Regions from separate parts of the Homo sapiens genome. Here all the other regions are linked to region 1. Evidence: promoter capture Hi-C in 16 types of primary human blood cells and fetal thymus (Javierre and others, 2016). All regions are on one chromosome and are shown on one strand. Each heading gives the region's core, a stretch centred on a gene start or on the middle of the fragment in contact. The rest is flanking DNA. Distances are from core to core; before and after follow the strand shown.

Region 1 (3,040 bases), core at 321-2,820:
AGTAGGAGATGACAAATGCAGCGTGCTCATTAAGATGCTGTGAGTGCAGCCAGAGGCAGCTCTGTGCATGTGGGGGCTGCAACTGTCACATGGCCTGGAGCTTGCCAGGCCCCAAGACTCTGCCCACATCATCTCAGCCCCCACTTCCTGGGGCCCTGATCGCATTTCAGACTTGTGCCCTGACAGGTGGCAACTGCAGGGGAGAAGGGACCCTGTGGATATTTCTGAATGTCACTGGACCCATCAATGTCTGTTTCCTTCAGGCTGCCCATGTCAATGACCCATCAATGTTGTGTGATGGGCCAGGCTGTGCCATGCAAGAGTGTCATGGTCTGTGCCCCTGATTACTCCCCCTCACGGCTCAAAGAGGAGGACCCAAGCTAATGTGAAAATCACAGGCACTGTGATTGGGTGCTAGATGAAACTTCACGCAGGGACCCGGCCAGCCCTGCGACCTCCCTGAGGGCGACGGCTGGGGACATGGGTCATGTCCACAGATTAGTCTCAGGGAAAAGGAGGATGCACCTGACTTCAAGGCCCGTAGCTTCCACACACTCCCCCCTCATCCTGGACATGTGTCCTCACCTGAACAATGGCCCCATGACTGGTTGTGCCTCATGGGACCCAGGAGATGGAGAGACGCAGCCACACCTCATAGGAGCAGGGCGGCCAGCCTCATTCTCTGCCAAATCCGCAGCGCCCAGCACAGTATCTGGCACATGACAGGCACTCCAGCATCGCTGAGTGCACAGGTTAACAAAAAGCATAAAGTACCTACTAGGCTCCTTCCCCTGCTCTGGTTATTGCATGGGTTCCGCCTAGAGGACTTAACTGAAATGTAAAGAATTGTTGAGAAGAAGGAAACTCCAGGTTTTTGTTTTTGGTTTTGTTTTTTTTTTTTGAGACGGAGTCTCGCTCTGTTGCCCAGGCTGGAGTGCAGTGGCGCCATCTCGGCTCACTGCAAGCTCCGCCTCCCAGGTTCACGCCATTCTCCTGCCTCAGCCTCCCAAGTAGCTGGGACTACAGGCACCCGCCACCATGACCGGCTAACTCAGTCACTGCAGGCAAGTTCAGCTCCGAGGTCTTCCACTCATCCACCGAAATGGACAGAGGATTCCTCTTCTCGCGGTTTCAGAGTCCCTTTGTTAGGGGCGGCTCTGGAATTCTATGTAGAAGGGAACTGACGGGTAGCAACCTAGGAAACTCATTAAAGCTGCATTGCAATAGCAAACGCAATATATTTATTTAGCTTGTGTGATCTAAACTTTTAAAAATATCAATCTTTCCAATTCACACTTCCCATAAAAATTGAAGAACGTATATTTTAAGGTGGTTTAAAGGGGCTGTTGGGGATTATTAGGAGTAAAAGGCATTGCACAGAGGCCATCTCAGAGCGCCATCGCCAAGATTGGGTGGTCTCCGGACGCAGGCACAACCTGGAGATAAAGAGGCTCGCGCTTGGTACCCGCCCCTTTGCGAAGGGCAGGTGACACCTAGGCTGCGGGCGGGCGGGGGACCCAATTTCGCATGCGCGGGGCGGTGTTGGGGGGCGGGGCGAGCGGCTGCCTCGCGGATTCGCGCGGGTGGTGAGAGTGGCCAGCGAGGGCAGCGTTCGCCGCCCCTCAGGCCCCGTCCCGGCGCCGCAGCCGCCTGCGTTTCGGTTTGTGAGCAGGCCCGGCCGGGCCAGGAGCGAGAGCGAGACTCTGGAGCGGTCGCCGCCGCAGTCGCCCGGGCCGGGAAAGGCGGGCGATGCCCCCAACCGCCGCTCGGGCCATGTCCGAGGGGCGCGCGTGTTGTCGCCGCCGGGGCGCCGTGCCCGCCTGTCGTCCCCCGGGCCCAGCCGCTCGTCCGAGGCCCGCGAGGAGCTGCGCCGCCACCTCGTGGGCCTCATCGAGCGCAGCCGGGTGGTGATCTTCAGCAAGAGCTACTGTCCCCATAGTACTCGGGTAGGCGCGGCCCTCGCCGGTTCCACCGCGCGCGACCGGGCCCGCCACGCGGACGCCACCCGGGGCAGGGCGGGTCCGGGCCGGGGCGCCCGCGGGTCCCGGGCTGCGGCGGTGAGGTCAGCCGTCCGTCCTCTCCTCTCCCCGGTCGTCCCCTGAGGTGGGCTTGTGATAGTTTATCAAAACAGAAACTCTCCTAATTGCGTGACCTCGACCCGGGTTAGGACCCTGTGCAGAGCCTCAGTTCCCCCGTTTGTGAAACGAAGGTACGGGAAGGTTGTTAGGACGACTGAGGTAATTTCAGCTTCATGCACACTGCCTTAACTTTTCGGGGCGGACTAGGAATCCGGCATTATTTCTAAGGACAAATGTATTCTGTGTTTAAGAATACTTCACTTAGAAACGAGCCTTTGGGTGATAACCTACGTGTAAGGTACAGACTTTCAACGTTTAGGAATTTACTTCATTTTACAGAAAGTTGAAAAATGATACGTGGAAGACAGTATGCAAAAGCATAAACTATTGGGTTGAGTTCATGAAATTATAGGCTGTGTTTTTCAAATATATTTGAAGTTTACATTGATGTGTATAGTTTCTTAAAACATATATTATGCATATATATTTTTAAGAATAATAAAGTGACACTAGTACTGTAGAAGCTTCCTTGGCTGTCTCCTCCCTCCCTCAGGGTTAACCACTATGCAAAATTTCCTTTTTTTTTTTTTACATTTTTACCAAATATATATATTATTCATCAATATTTGGTTCCTTTTGGCCTGTTTTGGGACTTGATATAAATAGAACCATACATACATAGGTATTCTTCTGCAGTTTTCTTCCTCAACAGTTATGTTTCAGAGATTCATGCATGTTAGTATCTGTAGCTGGGGTTCATTAATTTTCGTTGCTGACTATTCCCTGGGATGAATCGTACCGGAGTTTATCATTCTGCTGTTTTTGGTATTTTGGTCTTAAAAAACAGTACAGCTATATGTTTATTCTTGCACGTAACTCCCAGCGCATTTATAAAAGACTTAACTCTAGAATAGGTATCTTGAAGCTGAGTTGCTGGGTCATAAAGGATGCATGATTTCTAC
Region 2 (3,040 bases), core at 314-2,813, 930 kb before region 1:
GCCGTCTTTGGCCTCTTCTCTCATTCCCTGTGTTTGATCTGTCAGTGGGTCTTGTTGGCCAAGCCTCCCAAAGGTCTCCCAAGTCCCTCTGTTCCACCTGCACTGCTGCCACTAGTGCAAGCCTCTGTCCTCTCATGCATGGACTGTTGCAGGAGCTCCTCATGGCCTCCCTGTCTCTGTTCCTCCTCCACTTCAGTCCCTTTTCACTGGCATCCTGTCCCCATGGAAACCAGACCTCTCACTCCTTGTAACACCCTTCTGGTTGCACTTAGAGTGAAGTCGAGTTGCATGTGGGACCTGGCCCTGCCAACCTTTCTGGTATCAGCTACCCTGGCCTGTTTTTTGCCCTTGGGACAGGCCAAACCTGTTTCTACCTCTGGACTTGTGCATCTGGATCTTAGGTGATTCTCCCTGGAATGTTCTTTATCTCGATCTTTCCAAGGCTGGCTCCTGCTTATTTATTGAGATCTCGGCTCAAAATGTCACCTTGTTTGACTACCCAGTCCAAGCAGTACCTTTATATTCATTGGGATTTGGGCTAGCTGTTGAAACAAAGGCTAGGATAATAAAATAGATTATTTTTATCTATGCAGGCAGCCTCTGTGCAAGCTGTCCAGTACATGCACGGAGGCCTCATTGTGCTGGGGACCCAGACACCTTCTTTCTCATTGCTCTGTTACCCTCGTACAGGGTTTCTGCCTCGTGGTCTGAGGAGGCTGCTCTTGCTCCCACTGTCGTATCTATATTCCAGCCACCGGGAAGGGAGGAGGGCATGATCTGAAATTAGCAGACCTCACTCTGCTCGTGTCATATGTTTATAACAAAAAAAAAGTTCTTTTTAAAGACAAGTCAGGGTTTTTATCTTTGTTGGGCCTCTGTTTTAGAGTTTATGTCTTCACACCATGGGATTAGATCAAATGACAGGCTGAAGGACTGTCAGCCTGTCTCAGCTCGTGTCCAGTTGGATAAAACTCAGCCACATGGCCACACCCAGTTGCAGGGAAGCTGGGAAAGGTCCCCATTGTGCTGGGAAGCGATGTGTAAGCTAAACTCCATTGGTTCCATCACTAAAGGGAAGGGTAGATGTTGGGGGAACCCAGCAGTCTCTACTGTGTTTCTTGTCATTCTGCTCCACCTCTCTGTTTTCTTCACTTAGCATTTATCTCTAGAAGTTTGCTTCTTTTTTTTTTTTTTTTTTTTTTTTTTTTTTTTTAGACAGGGTCTCACTCTGTGGCCCAGCCTGGAGTGCAGTGGTGTGATCATAGCTTGCTGCTGCCTGCTGCCTGGAGCTCCTGGGCTCAAGTGATCCTTCCACCTCGGCCCCACCGAGTAGCTAAGACTACAGGTATGCACCACCATACCTGGCTAGTTTTTTAAACTTTTTGTAGAAATAGCGTCTTGCTGTGTTGCTCAGGCTGGTCTCAAACTCCTGGGCTCAAGTGATCCTCCCACCTCGGCCTCCCAAAGTGTTGGGATTACAGGTGTAAGCCACTGTGCCCTGTCAAGTTTGCTTTTTTTTTTTTTTCCAAGTTTGCTTTTTAAATAGGGTTTTCATGCTTGTTGTTGGCTTCACCTTGCTGTGAGGGCAGGGCCTTGTCTGCTCTGTTCCGTGCCACGTCCAACCACCTAGACTTGTGCCTGGCACCCAGTAGGTGCTAGTTAAGGTCTGCTGAGCAAATAAAAGCACGTGTGGGCTGGGCATGGTGGCTCACACCTGTAATCCCAGCACTTTGGGAGGCCGAGGTGGGCGGATCACGAGGTCAGGAGATCGAGACCATCCTGGCCAACGTGATGAAACCCCGTCTCTACTAAAATACAAAAAATTAGCCGGGTATGGTGGCACGTGCCTGTAGCCCCAGCTACTCGGGAGGCTGAGGCAGGGGAATCGCTTGAACCTGGGAGGCAGAGGTTGAAATGAGCCGAGATCACGCCACTGCACTCTAGCCTGGAGACAGAGCAAGACAATGTCTCAAAAAAAAAAAAAGCATGTGTGAATGAAGGGTGGGCTTCTTTGCCCCCCTCCCAACAGTAGGGAAGGAGCCATCTTCTTTCTTAGGATCTACTATGTGTCAGGCATTTGTTCTCTTTAATATTCCCCATCACTTGAAGATTGCAGCTATGGCCTCATTTTATTATTTTTAATTAATTAATTTATTCTTTTTTGAGGCAAGGTCCCACTCTGTCACCCAGGCTGGAGTGCAGTGGCACGATCATAGCTCACTGCAGCCTCGAACTCCTGGGCTCAAGCCATACTCCCACCTCAGCCTTCCTATTAGCTGGGACTACAGGTATGCACCACTATACCTGGCTAAGTTTTGTGTTTGTTTGTTTCTTTTTTTTTTTTTCTGAGATGGAGTTTCACTCTTGTTGCCCAGGCTGGAGAGCAATGGTGTGATCTCAGCTCACCGCAACCTCTGCCTCCTGGGTTCAAGTGATTCTCCTGCCTCAGCCTCCTGAGTAGCTGGGATTACAGGCATGCACCACCATGCCTGGCTAATTTTTTTTTTTTTTTTTTGAGACGGAGTCTTGCTGTGTTGCCCAAGCTGGAGAGCAATGGTGTGATCTCAGCTAAACGTAACCTATGCCTCCCGGGTTCAAGGGATTCTCCTGCCTCAGCCTCCCAGGTAGCTGGGATTACAGGCATGTGCCACCATGCCCGGCTAATTTTTTTGTATTTTTAGTAGAGACAGGGTTTTTCCATGTTGGTCAGGGTGGTCTCGAACTCCTGACCTCAGGTGATCCACCCGCCTTGGCCTCCCAAAGTGCTGGGATTACAGGCGTGAGCCACCGTGCCTGGCCCTAATTTTGTATTTTTTTTTTTTAGTAGAGGCGGGGTTTCTCCATGTTGGTCAGTCTGGCCTCAAACTCCCAACCTCAGGTGATCCACCTACCTCAGCCTCCCAAAGTGCTGGGATTACAGGTGTGAGCCACCGTGCCCAGCCTTTTTTTTTTTTTTTTTGAGACAGAGTCTTGCCCTGTTGCCCAGGCTGGAGTGCAGTGGCACGATCTCAGCTCACTGCAACCTCCACCTCCCGGGTTC
Region 3 (3,040 bases), core at 368-2,867, 910 kb before region 1:
AACTCGAGCTCTGGGAACCATCTTGCTGGGATGCACTCCTCACATTCTGGGCCTATCTCAGAGCCATTCCAACTGGCCCCATTTGGCCCATGGGGGTTGCTAACAGTGCGTCATTGATCCAACCTCTCTGATTCCATCCCATTTTGGGAAACTGTGATTTTCAGGCCAGAGGGACACTGCCAGATCTGAACAGACCGGCTGGGAAGGTCAGCACTATGCAGAGGGAGGCAGCCGTGTGAGGGAAATAAGTCGGATGCTTGGGTTGCAAGTTAGACCCTACTTCTAAGAGTGACCTTGGGTGAGTAATTTTACCCTCTGGGTCTCAGTTTCCTCTTCTGTAACATAGGGACGATAATATCTCTTCCTGTCGGGTATTAGCCGATCTATAAAATAGCTGTTGCTCAGAAGGCTCTTGACAACTGTGGGTTCTCCAAAGAGACGAGAACTTGGCTTATTTCTCCAACATCTATGTGTGTCCTCATGCTAGAATCACATTCACAGGCCTCGGCTGCTAGGAATGATTCTGCTCACTGCCAGCTGAGAGGGCAGGGACCCAGATGAAGTTCTCTTCCAGAATAAGTCAGCAATCTGTCCAAGATGGGGAAGACTTGCAGGATGGGGAAGACTTGGCGATAGAGCATATTATGTGAAGAAAGAGGGTCCAAAGTGGTCACTGGCTGACTTGTTCTATGGAAAGGCCCAAGCTGGCAGTGAGTCCATGGAACAGGCAGCAGGGGGTGGGGAATATGGGGCTGCTCCACCTGGCTGTGAGACAGCGCGGAGTGTGATGGCTATGTTAGGTCTGATCTGCCACTCCAGAGCCTGCTGCAGCCAGCCTGGGGAGCAGCTGGGTTCCTAAAACTGTAATAGACAGTGGTGGCTCCACAGAGCAGGCACACCTAAGGGGAAAATCAGCATTGCATTGGGAACGGTGAGGTGACATCACAGAACCTGAATTCTCACTCCTTCTGCAGATTCTCCTTCTTCTTTTTTTTTTTGACAGAGTCTCACTCTGTCGCCTAGGCTGGAGTGCAGTGGCACAATCTTGGCTCGCTGCAAGCTCTGCCTCCCAGGTTCACGCCATTCTCCTGCCTCAGCCTCCCGAGTAGCTAGCTGGGACTACAGGCACCCGCCACCTCGCCCGGCTAATTTTTTTGTATTTTTAGTAGAGACGGGGTTTCACCGTGTTAGCCAGGATGGTCTCGCTCTCCTGACCTTGTGACCCGCCTGCCTCGGCCTCCCAAAGTGCTGGGACTACAGGCACGAGCCACAGCGCCCGGCCAGATTCTCTTTCTTTACCTCCTTCTCTGCTCAGCATCACCTTCCCAGAGCAACACAGCTGAACAACCACACTAGAAAGCAGCCCCTTTTGTTGTTCATCTATCCACACAGAGGAAACAGCAGTGAAGAAACCAGACAAAAATCCCCACCCTGAAGGGGCTGATATTCTATTGTGGGAGGTAGATAATCCAGCAGACACACATAGAATCTGCAGAGGTTTATACAGCAGTGAGTGCTAGAAAGAAAAACAAGCAGAGAAGGGGAAGGGGAATTGTTGGGGTGGGGAGAAGAAGCAGAAAGTGTGAATAAACTGTGCAGGAAAGACTTAGGAAAAAGTGACTTCGGAGTTAAGATATGAAGAAAGTGAGGGGGCTTCATTGTGGGTATCTGGGGAAAGAAGTGGGCAGCCGAGAGTATAGTAAGTACAGAGGGAACATATATCACCATGGAACAGTAAGTGCAGGGGAACAGTAAGTGCAGGGGAATAATAAGTGTAAGAGAAACAGGAAGTACAGTGGGAACAGGAAGGGCAAGGGGAACAAGGAGAGCAGGGGAATAGTAAATGCAGGGAAATAGGAAGAGCAGGGAAACAGCAGTGTAGGGGCACAGAAAGGGCAGGTGAACAGTAAGTATGGGGGAAGAGTAAGTTGGGGGTAACAGTAATTGTAGGGGGATTAGGAAGTGCAGGGGGACAGGAAGTGTAGGGGAACAGGAAGTGCAGGATTAATAGTAAGTGCAGGAAACAGTATCAGCAGGGGAACGGTAAATGAGGGGCAAATAGCAAGTGCAAGGAGGCACAGTAAGTGCACGGGAAGAGTAAGTGCAAGGGGAGCAGTAAGTGAGGGGACAGTAATCAAAAGGTGAATAGCAAGTGCGGGAGAACAGTAAATGCAGAGGTAACAGGAAGTGTAGGGGCAACAGGAAGTGCAGAGGAAATAGTAAGTACAAGGGAACAGGAAGTACAGGGGAACAGAGGTGTGTAAGCACAGGATGTCTGGGGACACAGGAAGTGCAGGGAACAGTAAGTGATGGTGGAACAGTAAGTGCTAGGGTACTGTAAGTTCAGAGGAAACAGTAAGTGCACAGGAATGATAACTATAGAGTCCTGCTGTTGTTTTACCCCTGAGACTCCTGTTCACAAATTAACTGTGCTAACTTGTTTGTTAACACAGTTTCTTGTTGATCTCCCTTATTGTGTAAGTTCCATGAAGGCAGGGATTTTGGTATGCTTTGTTTACTGCTCTCTCCCCAGTGCCTAGGATAGTGACTGGTCTTATTGAGTGCTCAGTAGCAATTTTGTTAAAGGAATGGATGGATGAATGAATTGGTGGGTGCTGTAGGGTGGGGAATGCTGAAGGATGGGAGGCTATATCTGATGTTTGACAGTGAAATCAAGCAGCACAGTCCCGATAGCTGGGGGTGTGTGGCTGGGGCTCAGGGCTGAGGCCACTGAGATGGCTCCCAGGGAAGACAGATTCTGATCCAGGACCAGGAATGCCAACCCGGGGCAGCTTGAGATAGGCCACACTGATGGCTAGAAGGGCCAATGCTCTGACCAGGGCTGGCTGGTCAGAGCATTCCATCCTGAACGTGCCTGGCCTGATTAGATGTTCCAGCTGGCAATGCCTGAGGGTATAGTGCATCCTCAGGAAGTGCTAGAGCTCTGGGGCAGGTGGGCATAGGTAAGGGGCCTGGGGTAGGAAAGGGGAGTGTTCTCTTCCTGATCTCCCATGTCAAGTATCATATAAAGGGACTCTGG
Region 4 (3,040 bases), core at 351-2,850, 880 kb before region 1:
ACCCCACTGGGCTCTATCTCAGCCCTGAACCCAGGTCTGCCAAATTCTATTTTGGTTTGTATATAGTGCGTTTGACAGCATCTCTTTGTGCAGATTTTTCAGTGGTCATTCCAGGTATTAGATTATACATATATAACTTATCACAGTTAGCTGATGTTGACATTTTATCAGTGGGGGGGGGGGGGGGGGGAAGAGGAGAAACCTAAGTCCTTCACTTTCCCTGTTCTCTCCCCCTGTATAACAATTCTTTTTAGTATTTCCTCTACATACGTTGGCAATCACATCATTCAGTGTTATAACTTTTGCTTCAATTGTCAAGCATAATTTAGAAAACTCAAGAGATGAGGTCTATTGTCTCTATCTATATTTTGTTGACTGTGTTCTTCCTTCCTTACACTTTGAGATTCCTTCTTTTCTCATTTTATTTGTTTGGCAAACTTCCTTTAATCACTCCTTTTGGGTAGGTCTGCTGGTGACAAAGTCTCTGTTTTTTTTTTCTTCTGAAGATGTCTTGATTTCCTCTTGATTTCTGAAGGATATTTTCACTGGATGTAAGATTCTGGGCTGAGAGTTCTTTTCTTTCAGCTCTTGAAAATTGCTGTGCCACTTCCTTTTGGTCTCCATGGTTTCAGTGAGAAATCTGCTGTCATTAAAATGGTTTTCCCTTACAGGTAAGATGCTGTTTCTTTTTTCTCTCTCTCTGTCGCCCAGGCTGGAGTGCAGTGGCACAATCTCGGCTCACTGCAACTTCTGCTTCCTGGGTTCAAGCGATTCTCCTGCTTCAGCCTCCCGAGTAGCTGGGACTACAGGCGCGTGGCACCATGCCCGGCTAATTTTTTGTATTTTTAGTAGAGATGGGGTTTCACCGTGTTAGCCAGGATGGTCTCGATCTCCTGACCTCGTGATCTGCCCGCCTCATCCTCCCAAAGTGTTGGGATTACAGGCGTGAGCCACCGCACCCAGCCTGTTTCTGTTTTTTTTTTTTTTTTTTGAGGTAGAGTCTCTCTCTGTCTCCCAGGCTGGAGTGCAGTGGTGCGATCTTGGCTCACTGCAACCTCTGCCTGTCAGATTCAAATGATTCTCTTGCCTCAGCCTCCCTAGTAGCTGGGATTATAGGCATGCGCCATCACACCTGGCTAATTTTTGTATTTTTAATAGAGACGGGGTTTTGCCATGTTGGCCAGGCTGGTCTTGAACGCCTGACCTTAAGTGATCTGCCCTCCTCGGCCTCCCGAAGTGCTGGGATTACAGGCGTTAGCCATGGCGCCTGGCCAAGATGTTTTTTTCTTGCCACTTTCAAGATTTTTGTCTTTGTCTTCAGTTTTCCGAAGTCTCAATAGAAGGTGTCTTGGCATAGGTTTGCTTTGATTGATGCCATTTGGGGTTTGCTCAGGTTCTTGAATCTGTAAATTTATGTCTTTTGCCAAATTTAGGAAATTTCTAAACATTATTTCCTTGAAAATCTTTTCAGCTCCACCCTCATCTTTCTTCCTTTCTGGGTCTCTCACGACATGGATGCTAGGCCTTTTGTAATAGAGAGACCAAAATATAGACCAAAATGTATATAGGCCAAAATATACATACCCGAGATTCTGCTCATTTTTATCTAAGTCTATTTTTTGCTTTGTTGTTCAAATTAAGTAATTTCTATTATTTTATCTTTAGGTTCACTGACTCTTCCCTCCAGCCTCTCTGTTCTGGCGTTGAGCCATCCACTGAGTTAATTTTGGCTGTTGCGTTTTCAACCCTGAGTTCCCATTTTGTTCCTCTTTGTGGCTTGTTTCTCTGCAGAGATTTTCTATTTTCTCACTTGATTCTGTTGTGTTTGCCGTTGAGCATTTTTGTGATGGTGGCTTCAAATTGTTCAGATGATGCTGCTGTTGGTGTCATCCTGGGTTAGTCTCTGCATCTCTTCTCATCAGGGTCGGTGTTTTCCTGGATCCTGGTGTGGAGTGATTTGTGATTGAAGCCTGGATATTAGGGGTTATGTGGTGGGGCTCCTGGCCTTATTTAAACCTCTGTCTCAGCAGCCTCCTTTGAGGCCCGGCTGTGGTGGACTTCCTTGCCCCCAGCTGGGCTTCTCCAATACCTTCCCAAGGAGGGGTGGCATCTCAGTCAGTACATCTGGGTGAGGGTGGAGGTCTAGGCTCCCTCCTCAGTCTCTGCTGGCCAGGGTGGTGTGGGGCCTCGTCTTTTCCTGTGTGGTCTGATGGCGTAGGTCAGTTATCTTCTAAAGTTTTCCAGAATGCCCCTTGCCTGGCTAGAGGGAGCAGGTTTTTTTGGGGGATTGTTTTCTGAGCCTGTTGGTATTTCTAGGTTGCTGACTCTTTAGCACCCAGTTTGGCAAACACGAAGCAAAAAGATGGAACTCACCACCATGCTGTTGCCAGGTCCTGAGGCTCCCAGCTTGTGCTTCTCTGCACATGTTAGGGCCTCCTTGTATTCATTCTACACAGAATACCCATGACTTTTAGCTGTATTTGGTGGGGGGAAATAAGAAAAAGTACCTTGACTTCTTCCATCTTTCTGGTTGCAGCAGTTCCAGTGGGTAAAGCCCTTTGAAATTGCACACATACACCATCCTCTACGCCAGCCTCCTTCAAGATTCTGAGCTGTGCACTGCTGTTATTCATACTGTTTGTCTGCTCTAATTGTCCAATTCTTGTGAAAAGTCTAAACATGACCTTGGGTGATACCCTGGGGTGCATAGAGCAGAAAGCCAAGCTATAATGAGAGGTTCCTTGGATCTCAGAGGGTGGGCAGGGTCTGGAGGCAGGGCAGCTGGGATGGGGCTGGGCTGAGGTTTGGAGAGGCCTGGGTCCAGGCCAGACGAAAGCCAGTCCTTGGATCCACAAACACCCACAGCCAATCCATGCTAATTCTACGCATTCATGAGTTGTCCTCTAAAACTCTTCTTCCCAATTTCCTCCAAAACCCTCCATGTCATCTAGGCCAGGGTCTACTCTATGCCCCTTTGCTGTGCTCATGGAAACTTTTTTTTCTTAACTTCAAAGACAAGTGAGCTCATGGAAACCTCTCC
Region 5 (3,040 bases), core at 183-2,682, 850 kb before region 1:
TTCAGCTAAAGTGTATATTATTCCTTGACCATTCAGTTATCACTACTACCACTATTGAAATTACTACTATTACTATTTTGATTTAGTCTTCTCTTACTTGCAATCAAATGTTTATTGATTTGTTACTTGTATATTTTGGTTCAGCAATTAAAATAAATGTACTATAGTAATAGAAGATGTTAATATTAGAGGTTAGAGGGCTCTGGGTGTAGGATATAAAGAACTCTTTGTACTATCTTTGCAACTCTTTTTAAAATTTAAAACTATTCTAAAATTAAAGGTTTATTTAAAAATACAATTGATTTTTTTTTTTTGACAGACCCTCACTCTGTCACCCAAGTTGGAGTGCAGTGGGGCAGTCTTGGCTTACTGCAACCTCTGCCTCTCGGGTTCAAGCAATTCTCCTGCTTCAGCCTCCCAAGTAGCTGGGACTGCAGGCCTGTGCCACCACACCTGGCTAATTTGTGTATTTTTAGTAGAGACTGGGTTTCACCATCTTGGCTAGGCAGGTCTTGAACTCCTGACCTCAAGTGATCTGCCTGTCTCCACCTCCCGAAGTGCTGGGATTACAGACGTAAGCCACTGCGCCCAGCAAAAATACAATTGATTTTTGTATATTAATTTTGTATTCTGCAACCTCGCTCAACTCATTTATTAGTTCTAATAGTTTTTTAATAGATTCCTTAGGATTTTCTATTTTCTTTTTTTTTTTTTTTTTGAGACAGCGTCTCACTCTGTCACCCAGGCTGGAGTGCAGTGGCACAATCTTGACTCACTGCAACCTCTACCTCCCAGGTTCAAGTGATTCTTGTGCCTCAGCCGCCCCAGTAGCTAGGAGTACAGGTGTGTGCCACAATGCTGGCTAATTTTGGTATTTTTAGTAAAGACACGGTTTTGTCATGTTGGCCACGATGGTCTCAAAATCCTGACCTCAAGTGATCTGCCTGCCTCGGCCTCCCAAAGTCCTGGGATTACAGGTGTGAGCCACCATGCCTGGGCCCTTAGGGTTTTCTATGTACAAGATCATGTCATCTTCAATAGATAGAGTTTTACTTCTTTCTTTGTGATCTGAATGCCTCCTGTTCTTTTTTCTTGCCTAATTACCCCAACCGGAACCTCCAGTACAATGTTGAATAGAAATGGTGAGAGCATACATCCTTGTTTTGTTTCTGGTCTTAGGAGGAAAGTATCCAGTTTTTTACCATTGAGTATAATTTTAGCTCATTTAGCTGTTATTCTATTGGTATGGTGATTTAATTGATTTTTAGTTGTTGAAACCAAGCTTGCATTCTTAGGATAAATCGAACTTGGTCATGGAGTTTGATTTGTTTTATATGTTATTAAATTTGATTTGCTAGTATTTTGTTGAGGATTTTTGCATAAGAGGTATTGGTCTGTAATTTTCATTTCTTGTGCTATCTTCACCTGGTTTGGATAGTAAGATAATATTGGCCTCATAAAATGAATTGGAAAGTATTTCCTCCTCTTTTACTATTTGGAAGAGTTTGTGAAGAATTTGTATTAATTCTTCTTTAAGTATTTGATAAAATTCAGTGATTAAGCCATTTGGACTTAAGCTTTTCTTTATGGGTAGTTTTTGATTACTAATTCGATCTCTTTACTTGTTAAAAGTCTATTCAGATTGTCTATTTACTTTTGAGTCAGTTCCTGTAGTTTTGTTTTTGTCCTTCTATGGAAGGACATTTCTTCTAATTTATTGAGTTTTTTGGATACAATTGTTCATAATATTTCCTTATAATCTTTTTATTTCTGTAAGGGTAGTAGTAATGTCTTCTCTTTAATTTCTGATTCTAGTAATTTGAGTCTTCTTTCTTTTCTTATTGAACAATCTAACTAAAGGTTTGTCAATTTTGTTGATCTTTACAACAAACTGGCCTTGAATTAACTGCTTTTCTTTATTGTTTTTCTATTCTTTGTTTCATTAATTTCTGCTCTAGCCTTTATTATTCCCCTTCTTTGATTGCTTTAGGTTTAGTTTGCTCTTCTTTCTCCAGTGTCTTAAGGTGGAAGATTAGGTTATTGATTTGAGATCATTCCTTCTTCTTAATATAGGCACTGCAGCTATAAATTTCTGTCTAAGCACTGCTTTAGCTTTATCCTATAAGTTTTGGTATGGTGTGTTTTCATTTTCATTCTTGTCAATGTATTTTTAAATTTGCCCTTTTATTTCTTTTTTGACCTATTGGTTATATAAGGGTGTGTTTAATTTCCACATATTTCTGAGTTTCCCCAAATTTTCCATTGTTGATGTCAAATTTTATCCCAATTGTGGTCAGAGAACATACTTTGTGCTAGTTCTATTCTTTTAAATTTGTTAAGGTTTGTTTTATGGCCTAATATACGGTCTATCCTGGGGAATGTTTCATGTGCTCCTGAGAAGAATGTATATTCTGTTGTTGTTGAGTGGAGTGTTCTATAGAGATGTCTGTTAGGTCTCATTGGTTTATAGTGCTGTTCAAGTCTAATATTTCATTATTAATCTTCTGTCTAGTCTTTCTATCCATTATTGAAAGTGAGGTTTTAAAGTCTTCAACTGTTATTGCTGAATTGTATATTTCTCCCTTAGTTTCTGTCAATTTCACTTCATGTATATTGATGCTCTGTTATAAAATGCATACGTGTTTATAATTGTTATATCTTCCTGATTGATTGACTCTTTTATCAGCATGAAATGTCTCTCTGTCTCTAGTAACAACTTTTTTCTTTTCTTTTTTTTTTTTTTTTTTTTGAGACAGAGTCTCGCTCTGTCGCCCAGGCTGGAGTGCAGTGACACCATGTCGGCTCACTGCAAGCTCCGCCTCCCGGGTTCACGCCATTCTCCTGCCTCCGTCTCCCCAGTAGCTGGGACTACAGGCGCCCGCCACCACGCCCGGGTATTTTTTTGTATTTTTAGTAGAGATGGGGTTTCACCGTGTTAGCCAGGATGGTCTCAATCTCCTGACCTCGTGATCCATCCACCTCGGCCTCCCAAAGTGCTGGGATTACAGGCTTGAGCCACTGCGCCCGGCCCTTTTTTTGT
Region 6 (3,040 bases), core at 330-2,829, 810 kb before region 1:
AGTGTCTCTTTCCTGGCCCCCAACAAGAACAGTGCAGTAGTTTGCTTCCAGTTCCCATCTTTTCAGTGTGTGCAGGGGGGATGGTTAGGCGACACACAGCCTAAACGTGAGCAAAGCCAGTGATCCTGCCACTATGGTCCTGTCCTTGAGTGGTGCCATGAGGCCAGGAAGGCAGACAGGATGATGGCGGCACCAATTCCACATCACCTGCCAGGAGGCCCCAAGCCGCCCCCTGATCAGAAGCTGCGCGTCTCCAATTAGTCGCCCAGGTGACACACACCAAATCAAAGTCGACACTCTAAATGGGCCAATCAATAGCTCCATTTTCCCCTTCCCACCCTGGTGGGGGAGGGAAAGCTCATTTATGAAACCTTTTCTTCCCCTCATCTAGCAGGCATAAGAAAGCCCAAAGAAATTTGTTTCTCAGTTGCCCTCTGAGACAGCAGGTTTTCCTCTGAAATGTTTTGGGAAACATCTGTGGGGGCAGCCAGAGTCTCATCTTCTGGCCTGAGTGCCTGTCCTCCCATGGCCCTGGGTCAGGATCATGGTGGGGGCAGAGAGGCCTGTCTACATCTCTGCTGTTAAAGCAGAGGGTGCCCCTGCTCTGCCAGGACATAGAGCCCCTGTGTCACCTCAGCCCAAGGGTAGTCCTTCCCCAGGCCCCTCACTCTGCTCCTGGGTGGGGTCAGGCCCCCGATGCCCCCAGGCCTGGGTCCTCTCCTTTCCCTTTCTCAGCCCCTCCCAGGCTGAGACAATCCTTTTGGAGACATAATGTCTGGCAAGAGCCTGCCCCTGCCCAACATGGCATCAATTCATCTTGGTTGAGTGGGTGGTGGGCTGCTCCCTTTTTCCCATGCCTCCCCTGAGCTCTGGCTCAAAAGCTTCTCCCACCTTTGACCCTCTCACCAGGTGTCCTGGAGGCACCTCAAACCCAGCAGGCTCCATACTGAGCCCAGCACCCTCCCCTACACCTGCTTCTCCTCTGTGTTCTCACCTTGGGGAGAGCCCCAGGTTCTACCTGGTCACAGGGGCCAAGAATCTGAATCTGATCTGTGACTTGTCCCTGGTCCCTCTCCATCACTCACCTGGTGTTTGCCATTCTCTCTCCTGCCTCCTCCATATTCCTGTGGCTACCTCTTGTTTCAAGTCGTCACCCTCTACCTGGACCACAGCCATGCTCCTGACTGTGACAATCAATCACTCTCCAGACCTCTGGCCCCCACATTCAGCTCCCACCTGTGCCACCAAAACATTCCCCAAACCCTAACTGTAACCATGTTGCCACCTATTCAAGACCACCCCTGCTTCCTCGTCCTGCTCCATCTCAACCTGCACCCAGCCCTGCTTGTGACACTCCTGACAGAGAATGGCTTTGCCTTCCATGTCGACCCCTCCAGCCTTTGCTTGTGTCATTTCTTCTGCTAGGAATTCCCTTCTCATTTCTGGTGGTCTGCCCCTCTTCCCCATCTAAGCTTTCCTGGACTACCTCTTCTGGCTCCCACAGCCTCCTGGACCTGCCTCCTTCTCGGAACTGACCACAGAGACTCGCAACTACTCCCACCTGCCTCCCAAGACTGAGATCCTGGGATGTCCCCTTCCTCTCCGCCTTCTTGGCAGCAGCCCGCACAGAGCAGTCCATGCAGGACTTGGTCTACATTTGTGGGCAGCAGTGAAGCTGAAGCTTCTCCCTAATGGGGATGCTGGGGTCACCCAGTCATGTTCACTGCAGAGCAAGTTCTCCTGTTGGGTCCAGCTCGCCCACATCCAGGGACCTGGCCTGCAGCTTGGGAGGTTCTAGCCTCCAGGTGACCTGGGATTGTAGCCACAGAGAGCCTCTGGTGGTCTGGGCCCTTCTGCCCCAGAGGAACCCACCCTGGACTGGAGGCGGCCCCCACCCCCTGCCTAATTAACATCCAGAGCGGCTGTCTGCTTCTTTGCTCCATCTCATCTCCAACATTTTTCATGTCTAATCCACCGAGGAGATCTCCTGAAGGCTTTGAAGTCTCTGGGCGCGTGAATAAAGATGTCACCCTGGCACTCGCCGTGCTTCTTAATGAGCATGGGTTTGATGTGGAAGCCGCAGCCCTGGAAGGAAGCAGTCCGCCCCCAGCTGCCACCGCCCCCATTGCATCAGGGCGGCCAGGCCTGCCTGCAGCAGGCGAGCGGGGGTGGGGCTGGGAGAGCCTAGGTTTGAAGCCAGAGCTAGTTAAGGGAGTCTGGGCCAGGCAAGCTGCAGGAGGAAGGGGAGGTGGATGGCACTTATGATTCCCTCCTCTGCCCTCCCTGGCCAGGGACCCCCATGCCCCGTGCCCAAATTCAGGGACCCAGATCAGGCAGGGAGAGTTGGCTTAGGTGAGAGTGCAGGTCAGGGAAAGACGAGGGCAGAAGAAAGTGCCTGGGGATGGGAGGAGAACATGCCTGGTTGGGGGATCAGGGAGGAGGTGGCACCTGCAGTGGGCCTGGGTCGAGGCAGTGGGAGGTTCTTCCCAGGAGTGGCTGGCTCCACTGGCCCTCCATCTCTAGGAACTCCCACCAGCACTCTCACCTCTGTGCCTGAAGACAAGGGGCTCTAAAGCAGTGGATGGGAGCCAGGCTGGCGCCGGGCTCGCTGGGATGAATCCCCTCCATTGCCTGGATGAGGCAGGAGCCTCTCTGTGCCTCAGTTTCCTTATCTGGAATGTGGGGCTGATACTAGGCTCTACCTTGTGGGGGTGTTGGATGACTAGTGAGGCCATTATGTAAAGGACTAGAAATGCCAGATGTATATCACTTCTAACAGTATTACTGGAAGAATGTATCTGGGAGGCCAGGCCTGTGTGGGCCCTGGACCCCATCCTGCTTCCTCAGCCCTTGTCATCTGGTTACTGGCTGTGCCCCTGGTTGGGTCCTGTCATCAGTTGACTTGGAGCATCATGGGTATAAGGACACCACCCTGAGTCCTGCTGAGCAGGGGTCCCATATTCCTGCTGGTGAAGTTGGCCTCGGGGACATCCTCACTTTCTCTTGGAGACACCTGCACCTGCACCCCTCAGCCCCTGCA
Region 7 (3,040 bases), core at 190-2,689, 800 kb before region 1:
TTGTTCCCTGGTCAACCAGCTGCTGCCTGAAGGCCACATGGAGCCTGCGGGCATCAGCTGAGCCTTGGTTCCATTGCCTATGCCTGGGCTACCTTCAGCAAGTCATTTAACCTCTCTGGGTCCTGGTTTCTTCATCTGAGAAATGACAGAGGGGTTTGGATGAGCTTAGGGCTTTGACATCCAGATGCTATCCTTGGACTCATGTCAGTTTCATCAGTACTCGTGTGTGTGTGTGTGTGTGTGTGTGTGTGTGTATTCTTTTTGCACCAAATCAGAGTGAAATTAGCAACATTTGGCAATTAATGCATTTTTTTTCCCCAAGACTCAACTCTTAAACAAAGTTCTGAGTGTTTGACTTTCATTTTAAATAGGTGGCCGTCAGGGGGAATTACATGGCTCCTAAAGAAACACACAGACATTATAATTAAAGAGATGCCAATCTTGACAGGTAGTAGGAGAGGAGAGAGGATGTGACAATGAGAATGGAGAAGGGGAGAGGGGAGCTCAGAGCCGAGCTGGACGGGATAAGCCAGGGAAGTGTCTCCACTAGGGTGGCAAGCTTGGTTTCAGCATCAGCACCCAGACTGCCACTCTGCTCATAGTGACCACAGCAAGACCCAGAAGGGGCGCCATATGGTTTGCAAGGCACTTTCACAATCTCTGTTTCTTAGGATCCCATAACATTCTAGAAATGCAAGTTAATTAATCCCATTTCGCGGGTGAAAAAAGTAAGACCAATGGTCAGTTCCCTTATTTTGGCCACAAACCAATAATGCTACAAACTGATTCTCCCCTCTAATCCCAAGTTGAGCCCTGTCCCGGGCTGAGCCCCACCCCTGCCCCACCCTTAACTCAGACTGAGCCCCCCCGCCTCCCACCACTGAGCCCTGCCCACCACCCCAGGCTGAGAGGTGCACCCAACCCAGGCTAGACCAGTTAAGCAGCAGCCAAATCCATTCCACTGGATCTAAGATAGATGGTCTCTAAAAGTGTAGATGACCCAGAGAAGCCTCCTTTTTTTTTTTTTTTTTTTTTTTTTTTTTTTTTTGGCTAGGGTCAGGGCTCAAAGCTCAGGGTCCCTGGACAGTGAGGGAGGAGTGGGTGAGGAATGGCTGGGAGAACCCTGGCCTGCCAGGAGTCAACCCAGAAAGAGAGGTTGTGAACTCTGGCGTGGAAGAGCTGATGGGGCCACCCTTGAGTAGATTCCATATGTCCAGGCCAGGTGAAGTGGACTCCTTCCCAGTTGGTGGTCTTTCCTACACACACACACACACTCACACACACACACACACACACACACTCACACACACACACACACACACACACATGCTGTCCCTACCACCTTTGGTGGCCCTGGTGGCTCCTGTGGCCTGCCTGAGGCAGGTGCCTGAGGGACTGTGCTGTCTGACTAGCCTGGGCTAGACTACCAGACTCCCCATGTGACCTTGGTTAGGTTCTTGCACCCTACACCTCATCCGTACCTCCTGGGCCTCTGGGCCGGTGTGCTGAGATCATGGGGATGAAGGGCCTCTGGCCCAGCAGGTGCTCAGCAAGGGTGAGTTTCTTTCCCTCTTCCCTTTGAATCTTGCCTCTTCCCTCAAGGCTGACTGGCCCATCCTCCCCCAACTCCCACAGTGGGCTCCCCCTCTGACAGGCACCTCATTAGCAGAATCTCTGTAAATAACGCCAACGAGTTAGAGTTACAACAAGGTAGCTCATTAAAGGCACTTCGCTTGTCTCACTTCCCAATTAGTGTTTCTGTGGGTGCAGCTGCCAGGACTGCGGTGACAGGGCACCCTCGGCATGTCATGGTGCCTGGGCAGGCCTGGGTCACCCCAGGGGAGCCAGTGTCAGCAGTCCCAGGAAGAGGGAATGGGCAGCCTGGCTCACTCCAGCTCAGCAGCCCTGCATGGTCATCCTGTGACAACTGGTAGCACACAGCATTTGCACCCACCGCGTGGAGCACCCAGCTGCTGGGGCACCCCAGAGATGGACCCAGACTTGGACTTGGTTTTGGTTGGCGAGTCCATTCCTCCATCCCAACCCTTGTATGGTCCACTTCCACTCCAGCTGACTCCATCAAAACAGACCTGTCCCATGTCCCATCTGCTCCATCTTCCTCTTATCCTCTTTCATGGGTGACCTCGAGTTTTCCACTGCAGCTCCTTGGGACCACATTCTTTCCCTTGAGTACTGAAGTCGTCGATGACAACTTCAGTATGACAACAATGGTGGGAATTTCAGGCTAAAAAGGAAGAAGACAGCATGCCAGAGAGGCCTTGGGATGCGTGGGTGATGATGTCCCCAGGACAAGCTTGCCAGGTTGCAATTTTTATCCATGTTTCTATACATAATGAAACAGGCTCATAGAGGGTCAGCCATTTGCCCCAGATCACGCAGCTGGTAGGTGCCAGTGCTGAGGCCAGGGCCGAGATCACTCTAGAGCCTGTGTTAGGAGCTGGCTACTTACCTGTGCCAGCAGGTTAATGGGAGTGGAAAGTGATTCTCTAGTCCTTCCCTCCCTCCCTGCTCCCTCAGCCTACCCCTGTTCCATCTTTTTTCCAACTAGGTTTCGATCCCCTGGCCACACTTCCTTCTGTTTTCACTTTGGGTCTGCACTTTCTCTTTTACTTTGGGAAGGAAACAGCTCCCAATTTCTCTCCCTCTTGCTGAATCGATAGCTTAGCTGGGCAAGGCAGAACATGAAATTTACATTCAATGGTTTCCATGGCAACCACCGTGCTGGACCAGTTTCTCCTGCTCTTGGGGGCACAGTCTTTTGAGAAGAGCCAGGTATCAAAAACTCAGCTCCCTGAGAATGTGGCAAGGGTTTTAAACAGAACTAGAGAGGGCTTGAGTCCCCTTGACCATCAATTTTTCTGGCTGTGTGTTACATGAGGGAAGGGAGAAGAGCCCTCCATTTCCCCAATATATCAAGGAGCAAATTGCTGGTAGCATCATCCCTCAGCCTCATCACAGCTAACACTTTGTGAGCTCTGACTACGTGCCAGGCTTTGTGCTGAATGCTAAAGCATTCTTT

Evidence for each region. Contacts are between HindIII fragments. The CHiCAGO score rates a contact against its expected background, and 5 or more counts as called.
Region 2: a contact is called between a fragment that was not itself captured here and the fragment with the promoter of TXNRD3 in region 1, in 1 of 17 cell types (naive CD4 T cells). The highest score is 5.7, in naive CD4 T cells.
Region 3: a contact is called between a fragment that was not itself captured here and the fragment with the promoter of TXNRD3 in region 1, in 5 of 17 cell types (naive CD8 T cells, naive CD4 T cells, non-activated CD4 T cells and 2 more). The highest score is 8.2, in naive CD8 T cells.
Region 4: a contact is called between a fragment that was not itself captured here and the fragment with the promoter of TXNRD3 in region 1, in 6 of 17 cell types (naive B cells, endothelial precursors, M0 macrophages and 3 more). The highest score is 6.3, in naive B cells.
Region 5: a contact is called between a fragment that was not itself captured here and the fragment with the promoter of TXNRD3 in region 1, in 1 of 17 cell types (erythroblasts). The highest score is 6.4, in erythroblasts.
Region 6: a fragment that was not itself captured here is called in contact with the fragment with the promoter of TXNRD3 in region 1 in 3 of 17 cell types (total CD8 T cells, M0 macrophages and endothelial precursors); the score reaches 6.9 in total CD8 T cells.
Region 7: a fragment that was not itself captured here is called in contact with the fragment with the promoter of TXNRD3 in region 1 in 4 of 17 cell types (endothelial precursors, naive CD4 T cells, megakaryocytes and 1 more); the score reaches 13.2 in endothelial precursors.

What each region holds. Positions count from the first base shown.
Region 1 is chr3:126,653,654-126,656,693 of GRCh38, reverse strand. It overlaps TXNRD3 (thioredoxin reductase 3), which reads left to right and starts at 1,570. Exons shown (of 16, transcript NM_052883.3): 1 at 1,570-1,946. The coding sequence starts at 1,704. The HindIII fragment of the contact is 4,771 bases long and covers 1-2,604 here.
Region 2 is chr3:127,582,621-127,585,660 of GRCh38, reverse strand. The region is part of intron 1 of TPRA1 (transmembrane protein adipocyte associated 1); the gene reads left to right. Among named protein-coding and RNA genes, the nearest start is that of MIR7976, 3.0 kb to the left of the region's middle. The HindIII fragment of the contact is 8,588 bases long and covers 1-3,040 here.
Region 3 is chr3:127,559,455-127,562,494 of GRCh38, reverse strand. No RefSeq gene overlaps it. Among named protein-coding and RNA genes, the nearest start is that of MIR6825, 14 kb to the left of the region's middle. The HindIII fragment of the contact is 7,886 bases long and covers 1-3,040 here.
Region 4 is chr3:127,528,684-127,531,723 of GRCh38, reverse strand. The region is part of intron 5 of LINC01471 (long intergenic non-protein coding RNA 1471); the gene reads left to right. Among named protein-coding and RNA genes, the nearest start is that of LINC02034, 7.1 kb to the left of the region's middle. The HindIII fragment of the contact is 5,147 bases long and covers 1-3,040 here.
Region 5 is chr3:127,504,667-127,507,706 of GRCh38, reverse strand. The region is part of intron 5 of LINC01471 (long intergenic non-protein coding RNA 1471); the gene reads left to right. Among named protein-coding and RNA genes, the nearest start is that of LINC02034, 31 kb to the left of the region's middle. The HindIII fragment of the contact is 295 bases long and covers 1,285-1,579 here.
Region 6 is chr3:127,466,677-127,469,716 of GRCh38, reverse strand. No RefSeq gene overlaps it. Among named protein-coding and RNA genes, the nearest start is that of LINC02034, 69 kb to the left of the region's middle. The HindIII fragment of the contact is 209 bases long and covers 1,475-1,683 here.
Region 7 is chr3:127,449,373-127,452,412 of GRCh38, reverse strand. No RefSeq gene overlaps it. Among named protein-coding and RNA genes, the nearest start is that of LINC02016, 60 kb to the right of the region's middle. The HindIII fragment of the contact is 1,755 bases long and covers 562-2,316 here.